Regions from separate parts of the Homo sapiens genome. Here region 2 is linked to region 1. Evidence: promoter capture Hi-C in 16 types of primary human blood cells and fetal thymus (Javierre and others, 2016). All regions are on one chromosome and are shown on one strand. The core of a region is centred on a gene start or on the middle of the fragment in contact, and the rest is flanking DNA. Distances in the headings are between cores, read along the strand shown.

Region 1 (6,388 bases), core at 3,671-6,170:
CACACCACTGCACTCCAGCCTGGGTGACAGAGCAAGACCCCGTCTCAAAAAAAAAAAAAAAAAAAAAAAAAAAAGACACATTTACGTGTATCCTTTTTAAAGAAAAAATGTGCTTTTGAATAGCTGCATATTTTAAAGCTTTTATTCTTTTAATAATATACTTTCTAATTATAAACATGCTGTTATAGGAATTTGGAAAATACAGAAAAACAAAGAAAAAAATTAAAAGCCCACATATCCAACTGTATGAATGCCACTGGGCATTCAAGTCATCCTATTTGCTGGAATATTACAAGCAGCACTCCTTAGGGTTATTTTAAATGTTTGTTTAGGAGCAGACACCAATCCCATAGACTACAGGTGAGCTAGTAAAGATCCAGAGTGGGTCAAAACCAAAAAAAAAAAAAAAAAAAAGCACTGGAGCAACCTCAAAGGAGGCAGGAGGGTGAGTGCCATGAGCAGGGCACAGGACCAAGCAGCCCACTGCAGCTCACAGTGAGGACAGCGCCTGCCAGGACACCCGGACGCCCAGCTACCCGGCCACCTGGCCACCTAGCCAGCTGAGCCAAGAGCTGAGCCCATTTGCCAGCAGATGCTTCAACGGATCACAAAGGAAGCCCGTGGGCCGAGGCTGCAATCCACACAAGCCAGCGTTCAACTCCGGACAGGGCCCAGGGTCCTTGCTGGAGGAGAAGGGGCATGGAATCTGGGCCCTATGGGCACTCAGCCGGGCGTGCGGCCTCTGGGGGCCCCCTGGACGCCACAGCAGTATGGCAGAGCTGTGTGTGTTTTCACAGAGCCCTGTGACCAGTCTCCATCTCTCAGGGAGTGGAGAGACCGAACACCTTCTGGAGCTAATGGGTTCTGAGAGAACCCTGAGTGGTTATTCTCACAGATGTGACACGGGGAAAAACTGAGGTGAAGCTGCTTCCCTCCACACGCACAAGTAGGCAGCGGAGGGGCCCAAGAAAGAGCCAACAGGCGGCCCTCTCTCCCTGACAGCCACCATAGCCCAGCCTGGCCCCCACCTCCGATAACTGCAGGGTACGCTGCTACAAATGACGTCTGCGTTTGACAAGGATGAGCAGAACCGGAGCGTGTGCGTCAATTCAAATCTGTGACACTGGCGCAAAATGTGAGAATGGGCTGGGGTGCCAGGCGGCCAGTCACGGCTAGGGCACAGTTCCAAGAAGGGCCACAGGGGCCCGCAGGGACACTTACCCCAAGCCCTCCAGAAACAGCTGCTGCAGGTCAGCACCAGCACCAGGGCCAGGCACACAGTCTCATCGGCACGTCTGCCACTGGCTGTCTGCAAAGTGCTTCCCTTTCACAACCCACCCACACAGCTCAGGACTGAGGTCCGCCCAGGCAAAGGGGCCTCTCGGTTCCAGAATCCTTTGGCCTGACAGGCAACTACAGATACTTTCGTGGACTCTGCTGAAACCTGTCTGAGACTATGGAGCTTTACGTGGCTAAGGAAGAGAAAAAATATGTTTGGAGTCCTTGCCCACTGACAGGTGCATAAAAATACAAGATGGACTGGGCACAGTGGCTCACGCCTATAATTCCAGCACTTTGGGAGGCCAAGGTGGGCGGACCACTTAAGGTCAAGATTTCGAGACCAGCCTGGCCAACATGGCGAAACCTTGTCTCTACTAAAAATACATAAAGTAGCCAGGAGTGGGGGCATGCACCTGTAATCCCAGCTACTCGGGAGGCTGAGACTAGAGAATCACTTGAACCTGAGAGGCAGAGGTTGCAGTGAGCTGAGATCGCGCCATTGCACTCCAGCCTGGGTGACAAGAGCGAAACTCCATCTTGGGGAAAAAAAAAAAAAGTGGGATGCAAGCTGGTGCTGTGGGGACAGAGTCCAGCAGAGCACCAGCAGAGTCCAGCAGAGTCTGGGATTACAGGCATGAGCCACCGTGCCTGGCCAGGAATCATTTTTAAAGTTTTCCTTGGACATCCACAAACAAAAAAAATTTCCCTTTGGGCAGGGTGTGGTGGTTCACACCTGCAACCCCTGCACTTTGGGAGGCCGAGACGGGCAGATCACTTGAGGTCAGGAGTTCAAAACCAGCCAGCCTGGTCTCAAAAAAAAAAAAAAAAAAAAAAAAAGGCCGGGCGTGGTGGCTCACACCTGTAATCCCAGCACTTTGGGAGGCTGAGGTAGGCGGATCACAAGGTCAGGAGATCGAGACCATCCTGGCTAACAAGGTGAAACCCCGTCTCTACTAAAAATACAAAAAAAAAAAAAATTAGCCGGGCGTGGTGACACGCGCCTGTAGTCCCAGCTGCTGAGGAGGCTGAGGCAGGAGAAGTGCTTGAACCCAGGAGGTGGAGCTTGCAGTGAGCCAAGATTGTGCCACTGCACTCCAGCCTTGGCGATAGAGCGAGACTCCATCTCAAAAAAAAAAAAAAAAAAAAAATTAGCCAGGCATGGCGGCAGGTGCCTATAATCCCAGCTACTGGGGAGGTTGGGGCAGGAGAACTGCTTCAACCTGGGAGGCGGAGGCTGCAGTAAGCCGAGATGGTGCCACTGCACTCCAACCTGTGTGACAGAGCAAGACTGTCTAAAAAAAAAAAAAAATTCTCTTCAGATCTGCTCAAACAGGGGAAGCAAATACCCCAAAGGAGACTAGAAACCCCCCACACCCAGGCAAGGGGAGCCCACGCAAGGGGCAGTATGGCTCACAAGCACCTCTGCCCCCTCTGCACCACAGCAGAGGTCCCCTTAACAAGACAAGCCTGGGGGCGACCCCACCCTGGGCCACACCCTTTGCACAGGAAGCAGAGTTCACCCTTGCAACACAGCCCCTCTGCAGCCGGGCACCTTCAACAGCACCACCGCCTGAGGTCCAACGGACATGGAAACCCAAAACCACTCCTCCACAGACAACTCTGTACACATTTTGGGCCCTTTCTTTTTCTTCTTCTTCTTCTTCTTTTTTTTTTTAACCATTTCTTCTCTTAACCTTTTAGGCCATTACCAGAAACACAGTCAATAAACTAATGAGCAGGTCCGACGGTTCCTCACGCACCCCTGCGGGAACCTGAACGGCAAGGGCTGGCTGCCCACCTCGAAAGGACCCACCGGTCCTCTGAGCAGCTCCAGGAACCAGCAGCCCAAGACAAGCCACCATGTTGCTCCTGCTGTGGACATGTCTGTTGTCCACTCTCTGGCCACAGCCACATTGACCAGCCCTATCCACAAGTGCATCACTGGACTGGCCCGGGAAGACACACGAAAATATCCAGGAAGACCCTGTCCCCAGTCATCAAGGAAGGTCAGGGCAGTCAACAGAAGGGGCCAGCGGCGAGGAGACTGCGGGCTTGACCAAGCGGACCTGGCAGGGGCATGCAAGGCCAGCCCTGAAGGCCACCTGGTGGGCCAAGCCACCCTGAAGGGAAGCAGAGCCTGAGCCCGCCAGCCAGGGAGTGCAGGCCCTGGGCCTCCCGCCCAACACTCAGTCAACAGCAGAACCTGCCTGCTGATCCACACCGCTGAAATGACGAGGTGAACCAGCCAGCTCTGTTCAAAGTTCCACTGACAATGGGAACAAAGACCCGAGGGTGCAGAAAGTGTTCCCACAGAGGCAGAGCGGGGGAGCCAGGGAGGAACCCCATGAAACCTTGGCCCAGGAGCTCAAAATGACAGTGGGTGAGTGGGACAAACACAGAAAAGGGCCAGGAATGGAGCTCTTTCCTAGGCTGAGACAAAGACCTAAGCAGAACACTTCACTTTCCTCAAATCAAGTATGTGAAACCACCACGCGGCTCACACACGGACCAACAAGGACCCGCACTCAGGCGTCCCACAGGGGAACTGGATGCCTGTGGCCGTGCTGGACCGCAGCAGCCCCACCGCAGGGGATGAGCGACTGTGGCAGAGATGCAGGCAAAGTAGCCTCCAGGACAGAGGGGTCAGCACCCGAGGGCTGGCCCTCCTGGCACGTTCCTCCACGCAAATTCCACCCCGGTGAGAGGTGACAGCGTGCTGGCAGTCCTCACAGCCCTCGCTCGCTCTCAGCGCCTCCTCTGCCTGGGCTCTCACTTTGGTGGCACTTGAGGAGCCCTTCAGCCCACCACTGCACTGTGGGAGCCCCTTTCTGGGCTGGCCAAGGCCGGAGCCGGCTCCCTCAGCTTGCGGGGAGGTGTGGAGGGAGAGGCGCGAGCGGGAACCGCGGCTGCATGCGCTTGCAGGCCAGCTGGAGTCCCGGGTGGGCGTGGGCTTGGTGGGCCCGGCACTCAGAGCAGCCGGCCAGCCCTGCCGGCCGCGGGCAATGAGGGGCTTAGCACCCGGGCCAGCGGCTGCGGAGGGTGTGCTGGGTCCCCCGGCAGTGCCGGCCCACCGGAGCTGCGCTCAATTTCTCGCTGGGTCTTAACTGCCTTCCTGCAGGGCAGGGCTCGGGAGCTGCAGCCCGCCATGCCTAAGCCCCCCACCCCCTCCGTGGGCTCCTGTGCGGACCGAGTCTCCCCGACGAGCGCCCGGTCCCATTGACCACCCAAGGGCTGAGGAGTGCGGGCGCACGGCACGGGACTGGCAGGCAGCTCCACCTGCAACCCCGGTGCGGGATCCACTGGGTGAAGCCAGCTGGGCTCCTGATTCTGGTGGGGACGTGGAGAACCTTTATGTCTAGCTCAGGGACTGTAAATACACCAATCGGCACTCTGTATCTAGCACAAGGTTTGTAAACACACCAATCAGCACTCTGTGTCTAGCTCAGGGTTTGTGAATGCACCAATCGACACTCTGTATCTAGCTACTCTGGTGGGGACTTGGAGAACCTTTGTGTGGACACTCTGTATCTAGCTAATCTGGTGAGGATGTGGAGAAGCTTTGTGTCTAGCTCAGGGATTGTAAACGCACCAATCAGCGCCCTGTCAAAACAGACCACTGGACTCTACCAATCAGCAGGATGTGGGTGGGGCCAGATAAGAGAATAAAAGCTGGCTGCGGGAGCCAGCAGTGGTAACTCGCTCGGGTCCCCTTCCATAGTGTGGAAGCTTTGTTCTTTCTCTCTTTCCAGTAAGTCTTGCTGCTGCTCACTCTTTGGGTCCACACTGCCTTTATGAGCTGTAACACTCACCGCGAAGATCTGCAGCTTCACTCCTGAAGCCAGTGAGACCACGAACCCACCAGAAGGAAGAAACTCCGAACACCTCCGAACGTCAGAAGGAACAAACTCCGGACAGGCCGCCTTTAGGAACTGTAACACTCACGGCAAGGGTCCGCGGCTTCATTCTTGAAGTCAGTGAGACCAAGAACCCACCAATTCCGGACACACCGGGACGACTAACCGGCTCTCCACAGGATATGCATCCCCTAACACGTGAGGCCTAAGCTCCAGGCCCTGCTGTGGTAGCAATGCTCACCAGCCGCCTGTTCAGTACCCACTCTCCTTTTCCCTTTGCATTACCCGCAGCCTTCCTTTGGAGGACTGCCCCCAGCTCCCCACTGGGGAGCAGCCGTCTGTCTGGGTGGAGAACCCACTTTCCTTCAGGAGTGACCCTGCTGCACAGCCCCCAGCGCACGCACCGTGACTGTGCTGAGACAGACGGGACACAGCGGCACACGTGCCCTCCTCAGAGCAACAGCGGGCCCATCCGTCAGAGCTGCGGGAAGCATCTGTAAACAAGGGAGCCCAGAGCCCAAGGTCACTGCAGCAGCCACCTCCAACACAAAGCCCACGAAGTCGCCCACCAGGCAGGCAAAGTCAGAATGGCACAAAGCAAAGGTGCCAGGCCCTAAGGCACACCTGAGGCTCTGCCTCAACAGTGCCCTTCAGGGTTGGGCTCAGGTGGGTGGGTTTCCACGACTTCCAACCTAGTGCACCCTCACCTACACCTGGCAGGACAAAGAGAATGGTCTAAATGTGAGGAACGCAGCCTGGACTTCATGCCCTGTCTGTGCTGACAAGCAACCATTCCAACATCAGAGATCTTCAAGCCACAAGGCTGCACCACAGGCCACCTCCCACAGAGAGGATTCAACCGCAGACACGACTCCCAAGCCCCAGGGTCCTCTGCCACCAGCAGCCCCAGAGCAGTCAAGTTAGGACCCAAACTGTGTAGACAGAGCTACACAAAATTAGACAGGAGAAGCCAATGTATCCCACTAATTTCATAGCAAAGGTTCCTTATTACAAATACAGCAAACCAAGGACAGACAGCAAAGCTACTGCTCGCAGCCAAGAACTGAAGAGTGGCTGGGAGGGAGGCACTGGGGTTCCAACAGTGGAAATCAGAACGGAGCTCATTTTCCTCCTGCAGCCCAGCCCTCAACTTCAGTCCCATCTTAAAAATAACCAGCCGGGGCCGGGCGCAGTGGCTCACACCTGGAATCCCAGCACTTTGGGAGGCTGAGGCGGGCAGATCTCTTGAGGAA
Region 2 (6,527 bases), core at 3,642-6,141, 1.5 Mb after region 1:
GTTTTTTTTTGTTTTTTTGTTTTTTTTTTTTTTAAAAACCACTCACCTGTAGACTCATTTCCTCCCCAACATTGAGGCCAACGTGCCAGGGCACAAACCCGCATGGCCCAGGAGAGAGCCGGGGGGTGGGGCCTGAGGGTAAGGCTGTAACCTTCTCCCCTCACCCTCGGGGCCTCAGAGTCACTGAGCACCAGACTTGCCCCTTGGGGGCTACGGTGAGTCCCGGGTCTTTCTCAGAAGTCTGCTGGGGGCTTGTCCTCACAAAGCAGACAGAGCCGTGGGGGGAGACAGGCCTTGATGTCCCTAAACCCACCGGGGCGAGAAGTGAGCCAGGTCCCACACCCCCAGGTGAGACGCGGCACTTACCAGTGGTGGTGGGTGGTGAGCACTGTGGTCAGTTTCACCCCGTGCTTTCTCGCCGCGTCCACGACCTGCAGTGGCCCCGGGGAAGGACAAAGGCCTGTCACACTCCTAGGCCTGGCTTGCTGGCCTATATGGTAGGGTGCCCAGCAGAACCCAGGACACGCCATGAGGGGCCGCTGACATGGCCCGTCCTGACCCTGCCAGCTTGCCCTGCTCCAGGAGAGCCAGTGAAAGCACCTTCTCCTTCCTGCTCAGCCTGACACTCTTGCAACCACCTACGACCGCTCCAAGCCCCTCCAGCTCTGAGGGCACCACCCCCAGAGGCAGCATGCAGGGGCAGAAAGCCCCCAAGAAGACTCAAGTGCCCAGGATTGTACTGCACAGCGCTTTCTGTGTCACTGCCTCTCGCCTCCACCCTTCTTGGAGCCCTGTTAACAGAGTGGCCGGAGACTAATTTCCATTTAGCTTAGGCAAAGTTGCAAGGACACTGCGGTTAGGAAACCCATCGGGGGTGAGGACTCCGAGCTGGGTGACCAGGGCAGGGAGAGCCAGGCACAGCCATGCGCACCTTCTGGGGCTGCACCGGATCCACAATGGCAGCCTCCTTGGTCTCATCATCAATGACCAGGTACATGTAGTTGTCGGTCAGGGCAGGCAGCACCTCTACCTTCATGGTGCCCTCGTCCACGGTCAGGTTCTTCCGCAAATCTGTGTGGCAGAAAACTCCCAGCAGGGCTGGACCTGCAGACACAGAGCACAACTCAGCGGGCAGCCGCGCCAGGCCCTCCACGACAGGACGCGCAAGCTGCAGTGCTTCCCAGCCTTTCTAGGTTCCTTTGAAAAGGAATATTCTGGCCAGGTATGGTGGTTCTTGCCGGGAATCCCAGCGCTTTAAGAGACTGAGATGGGAGGACTGCTTGAGGGCAGGAGTTTGAGACCAGCCTGGGCAACATAGCAAGACCTTGTCTTTTTTTTTTTCTTTTTTTTTTGAGACGGAGTCTCGCTCTGTCGCCCAGGCTGGAGTGCAGTGGCGCGATCTCGGCTCACTGCAAGCTCCGCCTCCCAGGTTCACGCCGTTCTCCTGTCTCAGCCTCCTGAGTAGCTGGGACTACAGACGCCCGCCACCATACCCGGCTAATTTTTTGTATTTTTTAGTAGAGACGGGTTTCATGGTGTTAGCCAGGATGGTCTCGATCTCCTGACCTTGTGATCCGCCCACCTCGGCCTCCCAAAGTGCTGGGATGACAGGTGTGAGCCACCGCGACCAGCCAAGACCTTGTCTTTGCAAATTTAAAAATTAGCCAGGCATGGTGGTGCATGCCTGTGGTCCCAGCTACTCCGGAGGCTGAGGCAGGAGGATCACTTGAGCCCAGGAGTTTGAGGCTGCAGTGAGCTATGACTGTGCCACTGCACTCCAGCCTGGGTGACAAGACAATAACCTGTTCCTTAAAAAAAAAAAAAAAAAAAAAAAAAAAAAGGAATATCTTCATATATCCCTGAGGAGAACACAGGAACTAACTCATGCTCACATTCATGGAAATCAATTGTTTCAGACTTACGATCTCTATTTTCTTTTTTGAGAACTCTAAAAGGACAGGAAGGCCAGCTTGTGATTGTGAGGCGAACCACTGCCAGTGCTGGATTATTCACACCCCGGACTCAGGGACAGAATGTGAAGAAGGGAACACAGACTAGGGGTGCCCCCGCCTGGCCATCTGCCCTCCAGCAAGCTGTGCTGCCACCACTGACTAAGCGAGCCTGCGTTCCATGCAGTTACAGCCCTTCTCAGCCTCTAGCCAGAAAGAACCAATACTTGACGGCAGGCTGAGGCAGGAGAATTGCTTGAATCCGGGAGGTGAAAGTTTCAGTGAGCCAAGATCGCCCTACTGCACTCCAGCCTGGGCAACAGAGTGAGACAGTCTCAAAAAAAAAAAAAAACAAACAAACAATACTTGCTCTTGAACAGCACGAATCTGAGATATGCACAAAAATCAGCAGTTCCTTTGAGACGGAAAGTTGGCCACAACTGCCCCCAGATTCAAGTGTGGAGGACACAAAACCACCATCCAACTGACCCAAAGGACTCTGCCACAGGGGCCCAGAAGGCCCAAGAGCTGGGAGGAGTGGGTGACCAAGGGACAAAAGTGTCTGCCACCCAGTCGACCAATGCAAAAATATTTTCAGCAATGAAACTCCTACTAAATCTAAAAATACCTGGGGGCCCCGACAATACCTTCAGTTCCGCTCTACACGGGGAAGAAACCACAGAAGGTGGCAGAGGACAGTGCAGTCCTGGGGTAGGTGCCACGGCAGGGGCTTCTCCCAAAAGGGATCCAGAAATGGGCAGCAGCCACCAACTGACAGACACACGCGTCTCCAGGGCCCACCGAAATGCGGAATCCGACCTTATTTCCACAGCCGGGGAAACTGCCCAAACTATAGTTTCAATCACTGCACAAAGATATCCTATTACCCGCCTGACAACCAGCTGGGCATTTTCCAGATCATTCTCCTCAGGAACAATAATACCAAGATTTCTATATGAGCAGCTTCCTGTGTTATTCCCCTTCCCCTTAGCCTCAGCACCACCCCAGCCCAAGGAGCACAACAAGCAGAGTGTGGGTGCTGGGGGCTGCAGGTGGGGTGCAGAAGGGTTGTGACAGGATTCCGAGTGCCGGGCGTCCTCCTGGAAAGGAGCTCCATTACAAACAAGGAGCAGAACATTACAAACAAAAATACTGCCCACGTGCGGTGGCTCACGCCTGTCATCCCAGCACTTTGGGAGGCCGAGGCGGGCGGATCGCGGGGTCAGGAGTTCGAGACCAGCCTGACCAATATGGTGAAACCCTGTCTCTACTAAAAAATACAAAAATTAGCTGGGCGTGGTGGCGAGCGCCTGTAGTCCCAGCTACTCAGGAGGCTGAGGCAGGAGACTCGCTTGAGCCCGGGAGGCAGAGGTTGCAGTGAGCCGAGATTGGCCACTGCACTGCCCAGGCGAAGAAAATGTCATTTACAACTGGTGCTCAGCCTCCCCTGGAGACCATCACAGCCTCCTGAAGAAGCTGACAACCCAGGGAGGTGCCTTTATTTCTGAGGAAAGACGCAGCTGGTGCCAACACCAGCAGAAACCGTATTCCCTTTCCATATCACTCAGCCCAGCACTGCCTGGCAAATGTTCCCGGCTTGCTGTTTTGTAACTGTAATACTTTGTACAAACAGGTCAAGGACCTGCAGCCTGGGGCCTGGACCAAGTCCAGAAACATGTTCGGTTTGGCCCCAAAAACAAAAAAAAATTGAGATATGGTCTCACTCTGTCCCCTAGGCTACAGTGCAGTGGTGCGATCAAGGGTCACTGCAGCCTCGACCTCCTGGACTCAAGCGATCCTCCCACCTCAGCCTCCAAAGTGACTGAGACTACAGTTGTGTGCCACCACGCCCGGCTGATTTTGTTTAGTTTTTGTAGCGATGAGGTCTCAACATGTTGCCAGGCTGGTCTGGAACTCCTGGACTCAAGCGATCCTCCCGCCTCGGCCTCCCAAAGTGCTGGGATGACAGGCGTGCGTCACTGCACTTCTTTTTTAAATCAGGAAGTTTCACAGCATCTTGCTTCCCTTGAACTGGGCGGCACCAAATACGGGGGCTGGGGCCTCCCTTAGAATGGGGTACGCACGCCCTGCCGATGCACACAGTCCCGCTGGAACTCTCTGCCTGGACCCTTATGAATGTCCCTAAAACTGTAATTCTGAGGACCTCAAAATCCATGTCCTTTCCTTAGCAATGGCGACATTCTACCCCCTGCAGAGCCTTGACAGCTTTCGGCGAGATCTGGAAACCGCCAGGGACGCCTCCCTGTCTGCGCCTCCGCCCGCCCAGTGCCCTGCGCTGCGCACCCGCCCGGGGCGCTGGCCTGGCCCGGCCGCGCGACCACCTCGGGCGAATGACACGCCGGGTCCCCAGACGGGGGCTCCGGCGCCGGGCGGGCAGCTCCACCACCGCAGGCGGCGCCGCGAGACCGCGGTCCTTGCAGCGGGGCAGCAGGTGCGGGGTGGGCCAGGCGTCCCGGGGCCCTGCCCGCTGCGCCTCAGAGCCGCGCCCCAGGCTCTCCTCGGCGCCGGCCCGGGCAGGACGCGATGCCCTGGAGGCGTCAGGGGCGCGGCCGGCCCAGCCCGAGCGTGGAGGCCGCGGCGGACGCAGGCCTGGCCCTGCTTACCTAGCGCTTTCCGCACCCGCGGCCCCGCGCCCGCTCCGCGCCAGCCTCAGCGCCTGCGCCGCCTCCGCTCGAGCCCGGCAGCGCGGCCTTAGGCACCTGCGCAACAGACACCGCGTCAGCGGTCGCCAAACGACGGCCCGGCGCCGCCCGCTGCCCGCCCCGCCAGGCCCGCGTCCCCCGGCCCGCACCGCCCCGCCGCACCCACCGAGGCCTCGGCGGGCGCAGGCGGCTCCCAGCGCGGCGAGGCTGCGGCGGCCGAGCAGCCCTCGGCCCACCACCATGACCCGGGCCGGGCTGGACTGCCGAGCTGCCCAGGACTGCAAAACACCGGCGTCGGCGCGTCGCAGCCAATCAGCGCCCGCCTCGCGCTGCCCTCAGCCAATCAGCGTCCACCTCGCACCGTCCGCCAACCAATCAACGCGCTCGCGCTCAACTTGTTTTGTCCGCGAGCCCCGACTGCCACGGGCCGGGAGACGGGCCTGGGAGCGGCGGCGGCGGCCCGAGAGCTGCGCCGGGAGAGCTGTGCCGCGAGCCTCCGCCTCTTTTTTGGCACCGCACAGTGGATCCCTGGAGGCCGAGCGCCACGCCGCCCGGGTACCCGGCAGATCGCGAGGTGGAACGGGCCGTCGCTGCGGGGGACAGCGTTCCGAGGCAGTTGGTCCTCTCCGGGATGCCGTAGGCATCAGCTGACCGGCCCAGCCCACGTGACTACAGGGGCACTTGATGGGAATCATGGCAGCATCCAGGCCATTGTCCCGCTTCTGGGAGTGGGGAAAGAACATCGTCTGCGTGGGGAGGAACTACGCGGACCACGTCAGGGAGATGCGCAGCGCGGTGTTGAGCGAGCCCGTGCTGTTCCTGAAGCCGTCCACGGCCTACGCGCCCGAGGGCTCGCCCATCCTCATGCCCGCGTACACTCGCAACCTGCACCACGAGCTGGAGCTGGGCGTGGTGATGGGCAAGCGCTGCCGCGCAGTCCCCGAGGCTGCGGCCATGGACTACGTGGGCGGCTATGCCCTGTGCCTGGATATGACCGCCCGGGACGTGCAGGACGAGTGCAAGAAGAAGGGGCTGCCCTGGACTCTGGCGAAGAGCTTCACGGCGTCCTGCCCGGTCAGCGCGTTCGTGCCCAAGGAGAAGATCCCTGACCCTCACAAGCTGAAGCTCTGGCTCAAGGTCAACGGCGAACTCAGACAGGAGGGTGAGACATCCTCCATGATTTTTTCCATCCCCTACATCATCAGCTATGTTTCTAAGATCATAACCTTGGAAGAAGGAGATATTATCTTGACTGGGACGCCAAAGGGAGTTGGACCGGTTAAAGAAAACGATGAGATCGAGGCTGGCATACACGGGCTGGTCAGTATGACATTTAAAGTGGAAAAGCCAGAATATTGAGTTATTTCTTAACAAGTTTCGAGAGAGAAGGGAGCAAGACAAGAGCAAGCAACGGCTATTAAATGTCACAATCCTTTAATTAGAAACCATTTATTGGCCGGACGCGGTGGCTCACGCCTGTAATCGCAGCACTTTGGGAGGCCGAGGCGGGCGGCTCACGACGTCAGGAGATCCAGACCATCTTGGCTAACAGGGTGAAACCCCGTCTCTACTAAAAATACAAAAAATTAGCCGGGCGTGGTGGCGGGCGCCTGTAGTCCCAGCTACTCTGGAGGCTGAGGCAGGAGAATCAATTGAACCCGGGAGGCGGAGCTTACAGTGAGCTGAGATTGCGCCACTGTACTCCTGGGCAACAGCGAGACTCCGTCTCAAAAAAAAAAAAAAAAAAAGAAACCATTTATTTTAAAAATGATTAGATTGCTATGCCTCAACTCATAGAAGATGAACCCTTCAAGAAAACGTGAAGTAGAACGGGTGGGCCAGAAATGAAAACAGGCAAGTAAAGTATTTCTTCGGAAAACATTTTATCAAACCAAATGTTAAAAAGACTTTCCTT

The links. Contacts are between HindIII fragments. The CHiCAGO score rates a contact against its expected background, and 5 or more counts as called.
Region 2: a contact is called between the fragment with the promoter of HAGH here and a fragment that was not itself captured in region 1, in 3 of 17 cell types (naive CD8 T cells, M1 macrophages and erythroblasts). The highest score is 16.2, in naive CD8 T cells.

What each region holds. Positions count from the first base shown.
Region 1 is chr16:337,104-343,491 of GRCh38, forward strand. The region is part of intron 2 of AXIN1 (axin 1); the gene reads right to left. Among named protein-coding and RNA genes, the nearest start is that of AXIN1, 12 kb to the right of the region's middle. RefSeq lists enhancers at 2,355-3,079, 4,362-4,913. The HindIII fragment of the contact is 169 bases long and covers 4,837-5,005 here.
Region 2 is chr16:1,821,934-1,828,460 of GRCh38, forward strand. HAGH (hydroxyacylglutathione hydrolase) reads right to left here and starts at 4,892. Exons shown (of 9, transcript NM_005326.6): 1 at 4,779-4,892; 2 at 932-1,104; 3 at 367-431. The coding sequence starts at 4,854. FAHD1 (fumarylacetoacetate hydrolase domain containing 1) reads left to right here and starts at 5,273. Exons shown (of 1, transcript NM_031208.4): 1 at 5,273-6,527. The coding sequence starts at 5,306. The coding sequence ends at 5,971. RefSeq lists enhancers at 1,969-2,038, 5,303-5,492 and a silencer at 4,243-5,212. The HindIII fragment of the contact is 18,325 bases long and covers 1-6,527 here.